3 separate regions of the Homo sapiens genome follow, and all the other regions are linked to region 1. The links are contacts of gene promoters, found by promoter capture Hi-C in blood cells and fetal thymus (Javierre and others, 2016). All regions are on one chromosome and are shown on one strand. Each heading gives the region's core, a stretch centred on a gene start or on the middle of the fragment in contact. The rest is flanking DNA. Distances are from core to core; before and after follow the strand shown.

What was found. Contacts are between HindIII fragments. The CHiCAGO score rates a contact against its expected background, and 5 or more counts as called.
Region 2: a contact is called between a fragment that was not itself captured here and the fragment with the promoter of TRAF3IP2 in region 1, in 2 of 17 cell types (neutrophils and naive CD4 T cells). The highest score is 6.1, in neutrophils.
Region 3: a fragment that was not itself captured here is called in contact with the fragment with the promoter of TRAF3IP2 in region 1 in 2 of 17 cell types (erythroblasts and M0 macrophages); the score reaches 5.3 in erythroblasts.

Annotation. Positions count from the first base shown.
Region 1 is chr6:111,603,926-111,607,509 of GRCh38, reverse strand. It overlaps TRAF3IP2 (TRAF3 interacting protein 2), which reads left to right and starts at 1,632. Exons shown (of 9, transcript NM_147686.4): 1 at 1,632-1,734. RefSeq lists enhancers at 36-668, 1,514-1,563, 1,854-1,923. The HindIII fragment of the contact is 15,213 bases long and covers 1-2,365 here.
Region 2 is chr6:111,308,500-111,312,083 of GRCh38, reverse strand. It overlaps REV3L (REV3 like, DNA directed polymerase zeta catalytic subunit), which reads left to right. Exons shown (of 32, transcript NM_001372078.1): 29 at 825-1,015; 30 at 1,985-2,231. Among named protein-coding and RNA genes, the nearest start is that of SLC60A2, 51 kb to the right of the region's middle. The HindIII fragment of the contact is 1,328 bases long and covers 911-2,238 here.
Region 3 is chr6:111,330,540-111,334,123 of GRCh38, reverse strand. REV3L (REV3 like, DNA directed polymerase zeta catalytic subunit) reads left to right here. Exons shown (of 32, transcript NM_001372078.1): 23 at 757-1,001; 24 at 2,340-2,448. Among named protein-coding and RNA genes, the nearest start is that of SLC60A2, 73 kb to the right of the region's middle. The HindIII fragment of the contact is 4,545 bases long and covers 1-3,568 here.

The sequences.
Region 1 (3,584 bases), core at 383-2,882:
CTGCAGTGAGCTATGATTGCGCCACTGCACTCCAGCCTGGGCAATAGACTGAGACACTGTCTCTTAAAAAAAATCGATATACATATCTATGTGTGTGTATATGTCACATATATTGGCAAAAAATAAGATAATACTTTTAGTTAAATAATATCTCAGAGCCACTTTTTCATGTTAGTGGCTCAGATAATACATACATATTGATGATTTTTAATAGCTGCATCATTTTCTGCAAACCAAATGCAAACAACCTGTGTATACTGTGTTAAAAACAAGCTGCATTTTCTCTGCTTGTGGAATGTTGAGCAACCTGCTTCCTGTATCCTGCTTGAGCAGAACCTGGTACAATCTGAACAGGGATGCTCTGGGGCCTGTCCCCTTGATGAGAGTAGAGAGATAGCCGGCTGAGTGGACTGACACTTGGACCCCTTCAACAGGCAGACAAGTCCAGCACCAGGAGCATGGTGTGTCTGCCCAGGGCGCCCAGCTGGCCAGTGACATGGCTGAGTTCGTACCCAGGTCCTCCTGACTCCAAAGCTCCAGCTAACACTGCTCCCATTACTGACTGCTGCCCCGAAAGGCAGTTGTCTCTCTCTCTCTCTGTTCACATCGCTGGGTATCATCCTGCCTGCAGCGCTCCTTCATGCAATAAATTCTGCAGGCTACTGATTAAACAATGGGAAGGAAAGGGGAGAAAAAAAATCTTGAGGTCAGGAAAATGCAGCCAGAGGAGGTTAGTGTGCATGTGTGCATGTGTATGTATGTGTGTGTGTGTGTTCTTAAAATTAACCACTTTTTTTGTGCCTGACAATAGGGTGGTGTGTGTGCACAAGCCACAGGCATGTGTATGCTGTGTGTACACGTGTGTCCAGGAGCATGGTCAGTGAGCCCCCCCCCACCCCCCCAGTGGTTATGGGCAGCAAATACTGATTTTTTGGGTTTTTTTAAATTTTTTTTTTGAGACGGAGTCTTCGCTCTGTCGCCCAGTCTGGAGTGCAGTGGCGATCTCGGCTCACTGCAAGCTCCACCTCCCGGGTTCACGCCATTCTCCTGCCTCAGCCTCCCGAGTAGCTGGGACTACAGGCGTCCGCCACTACGCCCGGCTAATTTTTGTATTTTTTAGTAGAGACGGGGTTTCACCTTGTTAGCCAGGATGGTCTCGATCTCCTGACCTCGTGATCCTCCCGCCTCGGCCTCCTAAAGTGCTGGGATTACAGGCGTGAGTCACCGCGCTCGGCAATGCTGATGTTTTAAGCAGTTAGAGGAGGTGGAAGAAGCTCGACTCCCTCTTCTTCCCCATTATCTGCCCACAATCCCCTCCTTTGGAGCTGCTAATGATTACTAATTCTTAACATTCGAGTTCAATCTCCTCCCGGAGACACCCTCCCAGGCGAGGGCACTGCGACTACACTGAGGTTCTGCCCACTCCTGGGCAGCTTCTTAGCTGGGTGGCGAAAACAAAAATGCCGCCTAATTGGTCACTGGCCCTTTCTCATGAATGAAGGAGGTTTCTGTTTTAAGAAATAAAGTGACTCCTCAGCCGTTGATTCACTGCCCACAGGGAGATTTTGAGCAGAGGCTTCCTAGGCTCCGTAGAAATTTGCATACAGCTTCCACTTCCTGCTTCAGAGCCTGTTCTTCTACTTACCTGGGCCCGGAGAAGGTGGAGGGAGACGAGAAGCCGCCGAGAGCCGACTACCCTCCGGGCCCAGTCTGTCTGTCCGTGGTGGATCTAAGGTAAGTTATTCGGAGTTGCCACTTGCCTGGTCTTATTTCTTCACCTCTGACCTATTTCCCAAAGCACGCTGTTTCTCCTTTACTGAAACATTCTGCCTCTACTTTCCTCTGTGTTCGTCTCCCCTCCTTTAACTTGTTCGCACAGAGACCATCTTAGCTGAGAAAATGACAGTGAAGTTTGTGCTGCAAGGATGTGTTGCTAGTATAGTATTTCAGGCCAGCGAGCCCCGCCGGGTTAACCCTTTGAGGAGAGGAGGCTCGCACACGGGGACAGCTCGGAGCTGCCTGGGAACCATTCGTTTGGGTACTTAGTGTCCCCACAAGTTTCTCTCAAGAATTCAAGCCCCACTTCTCCAAAGAGAGAGCCAGGGATGGCAAAGATTAAGTAATTGGCTTTCAGCCCCAGAACACGTCAGTGGCAGTTTTCTCAATCCTTGTTTCGTGCAGGGGGGAAAAAAATCAACAGCACATTTTTGGGCCAGGAAGTTCTGCTGAGCTCTGTGCTGGCTGTGAGCCGCCTCCCGGCCCCTCTCCGCAGCCGCCCTCCAGCCCTCCCAGCCTGGCGCTGGACGGAGCCTTTGGGAACAAGGGGGAGAAATGCCAGAACTTGATCTTAGAAGCTAATCAAGCTTCTTGTGACTTTCAAGTTCAAGATGGTATCTTAGAATAGGGGGATTTTTTTTTTTTTAAAGGAACAGGAGAACAAGAGGCCAAATTTTTTAAAAGGACAAGAAACTTGGTTTCAAGTTCTTCACTTCTTGTGGTTCCATGACTTAGGCAATTCACTCTGACTCCACTAAGCCTGGATTTCTTCATCAGTAAATTGATGGGGGGTGGTGATCTAACATGAGTGTGTCAAATTCCCTTATAAAACAAAGCCAGGATAGTCCCAGAGGGGTAGTGGTAATGGGTGGTCTTCAAGACTTGTTTTGTTTACCGATTATTCACATATTTTAATTTTACCTCCCACTACCAGTTGGTTACCCCCTTGAGGAAAGGACTTTGTTTCCTGATATTTTTCTACCTCCCAGAATCCAGCATGCTACCAAATGCCTAGTAGGTGCTCACCCCCCTTCCATGTCAACTGCTTTGATTTCTGTTTCACTCGTCTGCTCTCAAGGCAAGAGGTAAAGCAGCAGTCAGGGCGAAAGGCTGGGAGACACGTGTCTCTGCGGGAGGGCTGCCTGGAATTGAGGCCTTATTACTGGCTCTAGCCAAATAGGAGAAAACAGGGAGTTTCTCGAATTAGTTCATGTCCCATTTGGGTTACCCAGGAAGGATAGTCTGTGCTATTGTCCACAGAGTCAAGGCAGGCCAGAGAACTGGCAGACAAGCCCAGCTCCAGAAGCCAGAGTTACTGCTGTAGCTGGACCTGGAAACCACTCCTCAGCTGGACCAGTCACTGTGTGTGGGGCCTTTAATGGGAGGGGAAGGGAAACTATGAAACACATCCTAATACCATGTAAGGGTGATGACTGTGATTAGAGACATTATTAGATGGCGGATACACAGAATCCTTAACTTTTTCCAGACCGTGACTTAAAAAAAAATTGTCATTGTTTCTTTTTGGCAATTACTTGCCATCAATACAGTTCAAACAGGCCCTAGCTGACTGGGATGGGCTGGTGCAGGACTTTTGGTTTCTGTGGGATGTCCTGGTGTAGTCCGTGTCATGTTTTTAGGCATTTCTCTCTATTCCCCTGGGATGAAAGGACAGGAATTTCAAGATATTTCACCTGCAATGAGTTCCTGATTTTATTTTCAAACAACGATGCACCATTATCTGAAAGCAGGCTAACTGTTGTGCACTTGCCAGCCTCGCTCTAATCCTTAAAGGCCACACACCACAG
Region 2 (3,584 bases), core at 325-2,824, 300 kb after region 1:
GCCTATAATCCCAGCACTTTGGGAGGCCGAGGCGGGCGGATCATGAGGTCAGGAGATCGAGACCATCCTGGCTAACACGGTGAAACCCCATCTCTACTAAAACAAAAAATTAGCCGGGCGTGGTGGCACACGCCTGTAGTCCCAGCTACTCGGGAGGCTGAGGCAGGAGAGTCGCTTGAACCCGGGAGGCAGAGGTTGCAGTGAGCCGAGATCACGCCATTGCACTCCAGCCTGAGCGACAGAGCAAGACTCCGTCTCAAAAAAAAAAAAAAAATTAATCTTACATAAATCCACTGCATGCTGGTTATTTCCTAGTAGAAATTTCCAACACAGAAAATTCTGTCATAGTTATTTATCAACATTTTTATAAAAAGTCAAAAAGGCTGATTTTGATTTGACTGCCTGGTGATCTTTAAACTTCTCTGTGTTTCCTGTGACTGAATCAGGACCCTTTCTATACTGGTAAATAAAAAAACAATACATGAAATCGTGTCTGGTTTCTTGTACCTAGAGGCTTTGACTATTAAAAAAAAAAAACTTAACGTGTTTTATGTTGCTTATCACATGACAAATGTTAATTTGCATGTCATTCCACATGGTTTTCCTTAAACTACATGATATTCTATTTTTAGAAATAGCAAGCTCTCTAAAGTCTCAAATAACTTTCAATTTTTAATAATTTTATTATCCCATCATTGTAAGTAACAGATTATTTAGGTAGGTTAGCAGGTTACCCAGTAGTTACATAATTGAAAGTGTAATAACAATGGTGAAACATACTAGGAGATATTTTATCTTTACTTGCATATCTTTTTTGTTTTAAGATACTTGAGCGTTCTCTAAAGCTGCTATTTGAAACGAGAGATATAAGTCTAATTAAACAGTATGTTCAGCGACAATGTATGAAGCTTCTGGAAGGAAAGGCCAGCATACAAGACTTTATCTTTGCCAAGGAATACAGAGGAAGTTTTTCTTATAAACCAGGAGCTTGTGTGCCAGCCCTTGAACTTACAAGGTAATGATACCCTCAGTACCTTGCCAGGATAGTCCTGAGATTCTGCACAGGTCTAGAAGACCCAAATGAAAAGACAGTCCATAGACACAGACACAAAATTGTTTCTTTACCTGCGCACATGAAGCCTCACTGAAAGTTAGTGAATATTCCCTCATACTTCGTAAGATGTGAAGAGGAAATCCTCTTTTGGGCTTTCCTTCAGAAACTTATGCAAAGAAATTGTGACACAGTCCTTGATTCATTTGTTTTTCCCACATCAAAATCACTAGGTAGTCCTTAATATTGTTCTACCAAAGCATTTAGATGGTATCATTCTGGAATCAGATAGTTTAACCAGGTAAATTTTCTCTTATCTTTCATGATAGATTTAATGATAGTTAGTTCTCATTCTTAGGGGATAAAATACATCTTTTTCCTGCCCCTGGAGGCAGGGTCTCACTCTGTCGCCCAGACTGGAAAGCAGTGGTGCAATCACAGCTCACTGCAGCCTTGACCTCCCAGGCTCAAGCGAACCTCCCACATCAGCCTCCCAAGTAGCTGGGATAACAGGTGTGCACCATTATGGTGGCTAATTTTTTTGTGGAGATGGGGGTCTCGCTATGTTGCCCAAGCTGGTCTCAAACTCCTGGGCTCAGGTGATCCTTGGCCTCCCAAAGTGCTGGAATTACAGGCATGAGCCACCACTCCCACCTAAAATACATCTTAAGCTAGTTGATATCTGCCAACTCATTATTTTCCAGGTAACAGTGATTTACAGAGTAATTTTTAAACTCTTGTAGGATATCTACACTTGGTGTCAACTAAGCAAAATGTATATATATTATTCTCAAAGAAATAGTAATTCTGTTTTGAAATTGTCTTTTGTAGTTTTTTCATTGTTTTATTATTGTTTAATTCTGACTTAATTTGTGAGAAAGATGGCTTCCATAACAGTATTTGGGTGTGGTTTTTTTCTTTGAATTCGAATAGGAAAATGCTGACTTATGACCGGCGCTCTGAGCCTCAGGTTGGGGAGCGAGTGCCATACGTCATCATTTATGGGACCCCCGGAGTACCACTTATCCAGCTTGTAAGGCGCCCAGTGGAAGTCCTGCAGGACCCAACTCTGAGACTGAATGCTACTTACTATATTACCAAGCAAATCCTTCCACCCTTGGCAAGAATCTTCTCACTTATTGGTATTGATGTCTTCAGCTGGTATCATGAATTACCAAGGGTAAGCTTACCAAATAGTACATGTGCTCTAACTATGGAGAGATTTCACTCCAAATTTTCAGTAGAACTAAAGGTTTTATGTGCTATTGATATGGGAGTGCTGGGAAGGGAAGAGTGTGGTCCCGTAAAATGATACGGAAAGCGGGAGGGGAAGTGCTGGGTAGAGAAAGGTGGGTCCCTGGCTAGGGCTCCACCCCCACAGATCTAGGTGAGGATAGGCACTCCTGCTTTCATGCCCAAATGTTACCATTTTCCAAGACCACCTTGGCCTGCCATGCCCCAATCCTGGGCCTATAAAAACCCGAGACCCTAGTGGGCAGACACACGAGCGGCTGGACATTGTGAGGAACACTTCGGTGGAAGACCCAAGCAGCTGGTCGTCAAGAGGAGCACGCCAGCAGAACAGCACACCGAGAGGCACTGGCATGCTGGCAGGCCATTGACCGGCAGGACAAGGTGGAGTTTGGCCAGGGCAGTCAGAGAAGAGACGGGGCCACCTAGAAGCCCAACTCCAGGGGAAAACCATCTCCCTGCTGATTCCACCATCAGATGAGAGCTACTTCCACTCAATAAAACGTTGCACTCATTCTCCTAGCCCACGGGTGATCGGATTCTTCTGGTACACCAAGGCAAGAACCCGGAATACAGAAAGCCCTCCATCCTTGAGACAAGCTAGAGGGTCTAATTGAGCTGGTTAACACAAGCCGCCTATAGACAGCAAACTAAAAGAATACCCTGTAACACACACCCACTGGGGCTTCAGCTGTAAACATTCACCCCTAGACACTGCCATGGGGCCAGAGCTCCACAACCTGCCCGTCTGTGTGCTCCCCTAGAGGTTTGAGCAGCGGGGCACTGAAGAAGCGAGCCATTGTCCCTCTCGCACACCCTGCAAGGGGAACAAGGGAACCTTTCCTGTTTCACTGTGAGAGCAAAGCAGATCCTCTGTCCTAAACTGGCAAAGATGCCATGCTCTCCTGGTTTCCTAAAAGATAAACGTTTTAAGTATTCTACAAACACATTCCTAGCTTCTATCAAGTTGGCCAAATTATAGAAATATTAAAATAAATCCCACAACAATTTCAATGGTAGCCGCAAATAACGTAGAATAAGCCAGTTAATAGAAAATAAATGTACAGCAAAAATTCCTTCGAAATGAATGTCTAAGAAAGGTGTAGGATTTAGTATCTAGACACACTAGACACAGCCCTGAAGAAACCAGAGTAAAGAATTACTGCAATGGTAAAATAGCATTATAGTTGTTCCCCAACTTATGATGGTTCAACTTAAGATTTTTCTACTTAACGATGGTGCGAAAATGATATGCCTTCTGTAGAAACCGTAGTTCAAGTAC
Region 3 (3,584 bases), core at 47-2,546, 270 kb after region 1:
CTACTAAAAATACAAAAATTAGCTGGGCATGATGGCACAAGCCTGTTATCCCAGCTACTTGGGAGGCTGAGACAGGAGAATCACTTGAACCCTGGAGGTGGAGGTTGCAGTGAGCCGAGATTTTGCCATTGCACTCTAGCCTGGACAACAGAGCGAGACTTCATCTCAAAATAAATAAGTAAATAATAAAAATAAAAAGAGATCTAATTGCATCTGTCTTTTAAAATTGACTTATCTTTTAAGTTATTTGACATGTTTTATAGTTTTTATAAAAGTCGTAGGAATAGGAAAAGGATTTACATATATCCCTTTTCGCATCTGAAAGCTGACTAAATAACCAGTATTACAGGCTGGTCATAGTGGCTCACGCCTATAATCCCAGCACTTTGGGAGGCTGAGGTGGGCGGATCACCTGAGGTCAGGAGTTCGAGACCAGCCTGGCTAACATGGTGAAACCCTGTTTCTACTAAAAATACAAAAAATTAGCTGGACATGGTGGCGCATGCCTGTAATCCCAGCTACTCGGGAGGCTGAGGTAGGAGAATCGCTTGAACCTGGGAGGCGGAGGTTGCAGTGAGCCGCAATCGTGCCATCGTACTCCAGCTTGGGCAACAAGAGCGAAACACTGTCTCAAAAAAAAAAAAAAGTCATACAATCTTATTCTGAAAAGCAGATTATCCTCAAATGATTATATATTCAAATGACCAATATATTTAACTGTGTTTCTTCTCTTCTCACCTCCCTTTCTCCCTGCAGTACCGTGTGGAATCAATGATGTTGCGTATTGCTAAACCAATGAACTATATTCCTGTGACACCTAGTGTTCAGCAAAGATCCCAGATGAGAGCCCCACAGTGTGTTCCTCTAATTATGGAGCCTGAATCCCGCTTCTATAGCAACTCTGTTCTCGTTTTGGATTTCCAATCACTTTATCCTTCTATTGTGATTGCATATAACTACTGCTTTTCCACCTGCCTTGGCCATGTGGAGAACTTGGGAAAGTAAGGTTTTTTTCACATTTACAATAATATTGTTGTGCTTTGTACTTCTTACTAAAATTAGACACTTTCTGAGTGTCTCTTTGCTCTGGACACCTTCCCTATGAGCAAGATAAATGGACTGTATCCCAGCTAATCCATTCATTATAGTTGTCTTACCAATTGACATGGATCACCATATGATTAATCCAGCTTCATGGATGGATGACTCATGAAGAGGATTGGGAATAGGTCAGCCTTGCAACTGTTTCACTCCATATGTAACTATAGTCTCTTTTAAAATGAAAGTTAAATTGTTGATGTAAATTACCTTTCAGTGGAACAGTTTGAGGATTATGATCTTATAACTTCAACTAGACCTCCTCTTTATTTTTCTTATAAATAGTCCAGGATTTTAAAAATTAAATGTTAGGTTTTATTAATTAATGTAAATTAAATTTTATAAACTGATAATAACATTTTAAATTCTCAAAGGATTAGATACTTTTCTTAAATTGTAGGAAATAACGGAGTCTTCCTTTTTATTGATTTTTGCGTATTTGAGATCATGTGTTGGTTTTAGTATATCCTATATTCCTTCATAGAAAGCATCTGTGGAAATTATATTGGTAATCCTGTCTTTTTATTAAAAACAGGAATTTGGAAAATTTACAAGATTTACAGTATTTCTATTTAAGGTTTAAATTATTCTTTAAATATATTCACAAGGATGTTAAAATAAATTTTTATTTAAGTAATTTAGTATAAGATGATTGGGCTGGACGTGGTGGCTCACACCTGTAATCCCAGCACTTTGGGAGGCCAAGGCGGGCAGATCATGAGGTTAGGAGATCGAGACCATCCTGGCTAACATGAGGAAACCCTGTCTCTACTAAAAATGCAAAAAATTAGCCGGGTATGGTGGCAGGCACCTGTAGTCCCAGCTACTCGGGAGGCTGAGGCAGGAGAATGGCATGAACCCGGGAGGCGGAGCTTGCAGTGAGCCGAGATCGCGCCACTGCACTCCAGCCTGGGTGACAGAGCGAGACTCCATCTCAAAAAATAATAATAATAAAATAAATAAGATGATCAGATGTTGAGTTGAAATTTGGTATTTCAGTATAGATTTTACCCATAAATTTTAGGATAGTGCCATTTAAGAAATGTTTCTTGTAATAAATTATGAATATTTGAAAAACTATTTTGGTAATGAGGCAAATAAACATATTACTAAGTACATGAATTCTTGTTTAGATGTTTGAAAATGAATTTCTAATGGAGTTAGAAAGATTTTTTAAATTGCGTAAAATCTCTGTTCTATGATTTGAGGAAGTATTTGCTTAATGTTCTCTTTCTTAACAGGTATGATGAGTTCAAATTTGGCTGTACCTCTCTGAGAGTACCTCCAGATTTACTTTACCAAGTTAGGCATGATATCACAGTGTCCCCCAATGGAGTAGCTTTTGTCAAGGTAATACTCTCTTGTAAATGAAAGATAACAACTATGGCTTAACTTTTGGAGAGCTGATAATGGTTTAGATATTGTTGGCACATAATAGAAAACAAAAACACCGAGTTTGCTTGAATATTTTATCTCAAAAAGTCAAAGATATGAGAATCTTCTAAGAAATCACTTCAGGAACAAACCAGTCACCTTGTTTTTCTTGAATTTAGGTTTTAAATCTTTAAATTGTTAAATTTTAGTTAACGAAATATTGAAAGAAATAAACGTATGCTTATACTTTCTGCCCTTTATTAGAATCAGGCAGACTTAAATGGCAACTTAATGGTCAAAATATATTACCTACAAAGATTTAAATTGTTTTAATGTGTAGATGCTACTAGTTGTTCTTCTACATTATTTTAAATTAAGACTATCTTAGAATTAATGATACTCTAATAGGCTTATTGTTTATATTTTTCAGAAGATATCCAAACTAAAAATAGGGTCCCTTTTTTCTCTCCTGTATCTCCCCTCAAAAGAGACAGAGGAAAACTTTACAAATTAAAGACAAATAAGAGACATCTTAAAAGAAGATTATATTGCCTCTTAAATGCCAACTTTATTCCTTTCTTTTCTATTTTCTTAGCAGTGAGTCTGTACTAGAATCATGAGACAGTAGAGTGGTTGATGGTAGAGTGGACCCCACCAGCCCTCAAATTCATTCTGGTGTACTATATCAAAAGTGGCATCATTCTCTACCAGTAAGAGGGAATACTAAACTAAAATTAGCCATGTAGATGAAGAAAATTTTAACCAAAGAGTTCATGGTATGTTTCTTTTTGGAAAATTTTAAAATGTAGTATTTCTAAGGACTGATGTAGATGAGATCTACTTGGAGAAATGGAAACAGATTTTTTTTTATTAAATGGGTCTCTATATAAAAATCAGTTTTCCAGTCACATTTCTGCGAATTTGGTCCCTGTTCTTTTTATCTTATGTCTTAAAACATTATGGCTGCTTCAAAATGTACACCAAATGAATTAGAGGTTAGAATATGTTCCATTGTCGCATATCTAGCAGCTTATTATCTCCCTTTAACAGCTTTTTTTTAAACTTGCATCTACTTTTGGACCCAGTGTGTAAAGCTTAATGAAAATAAGATT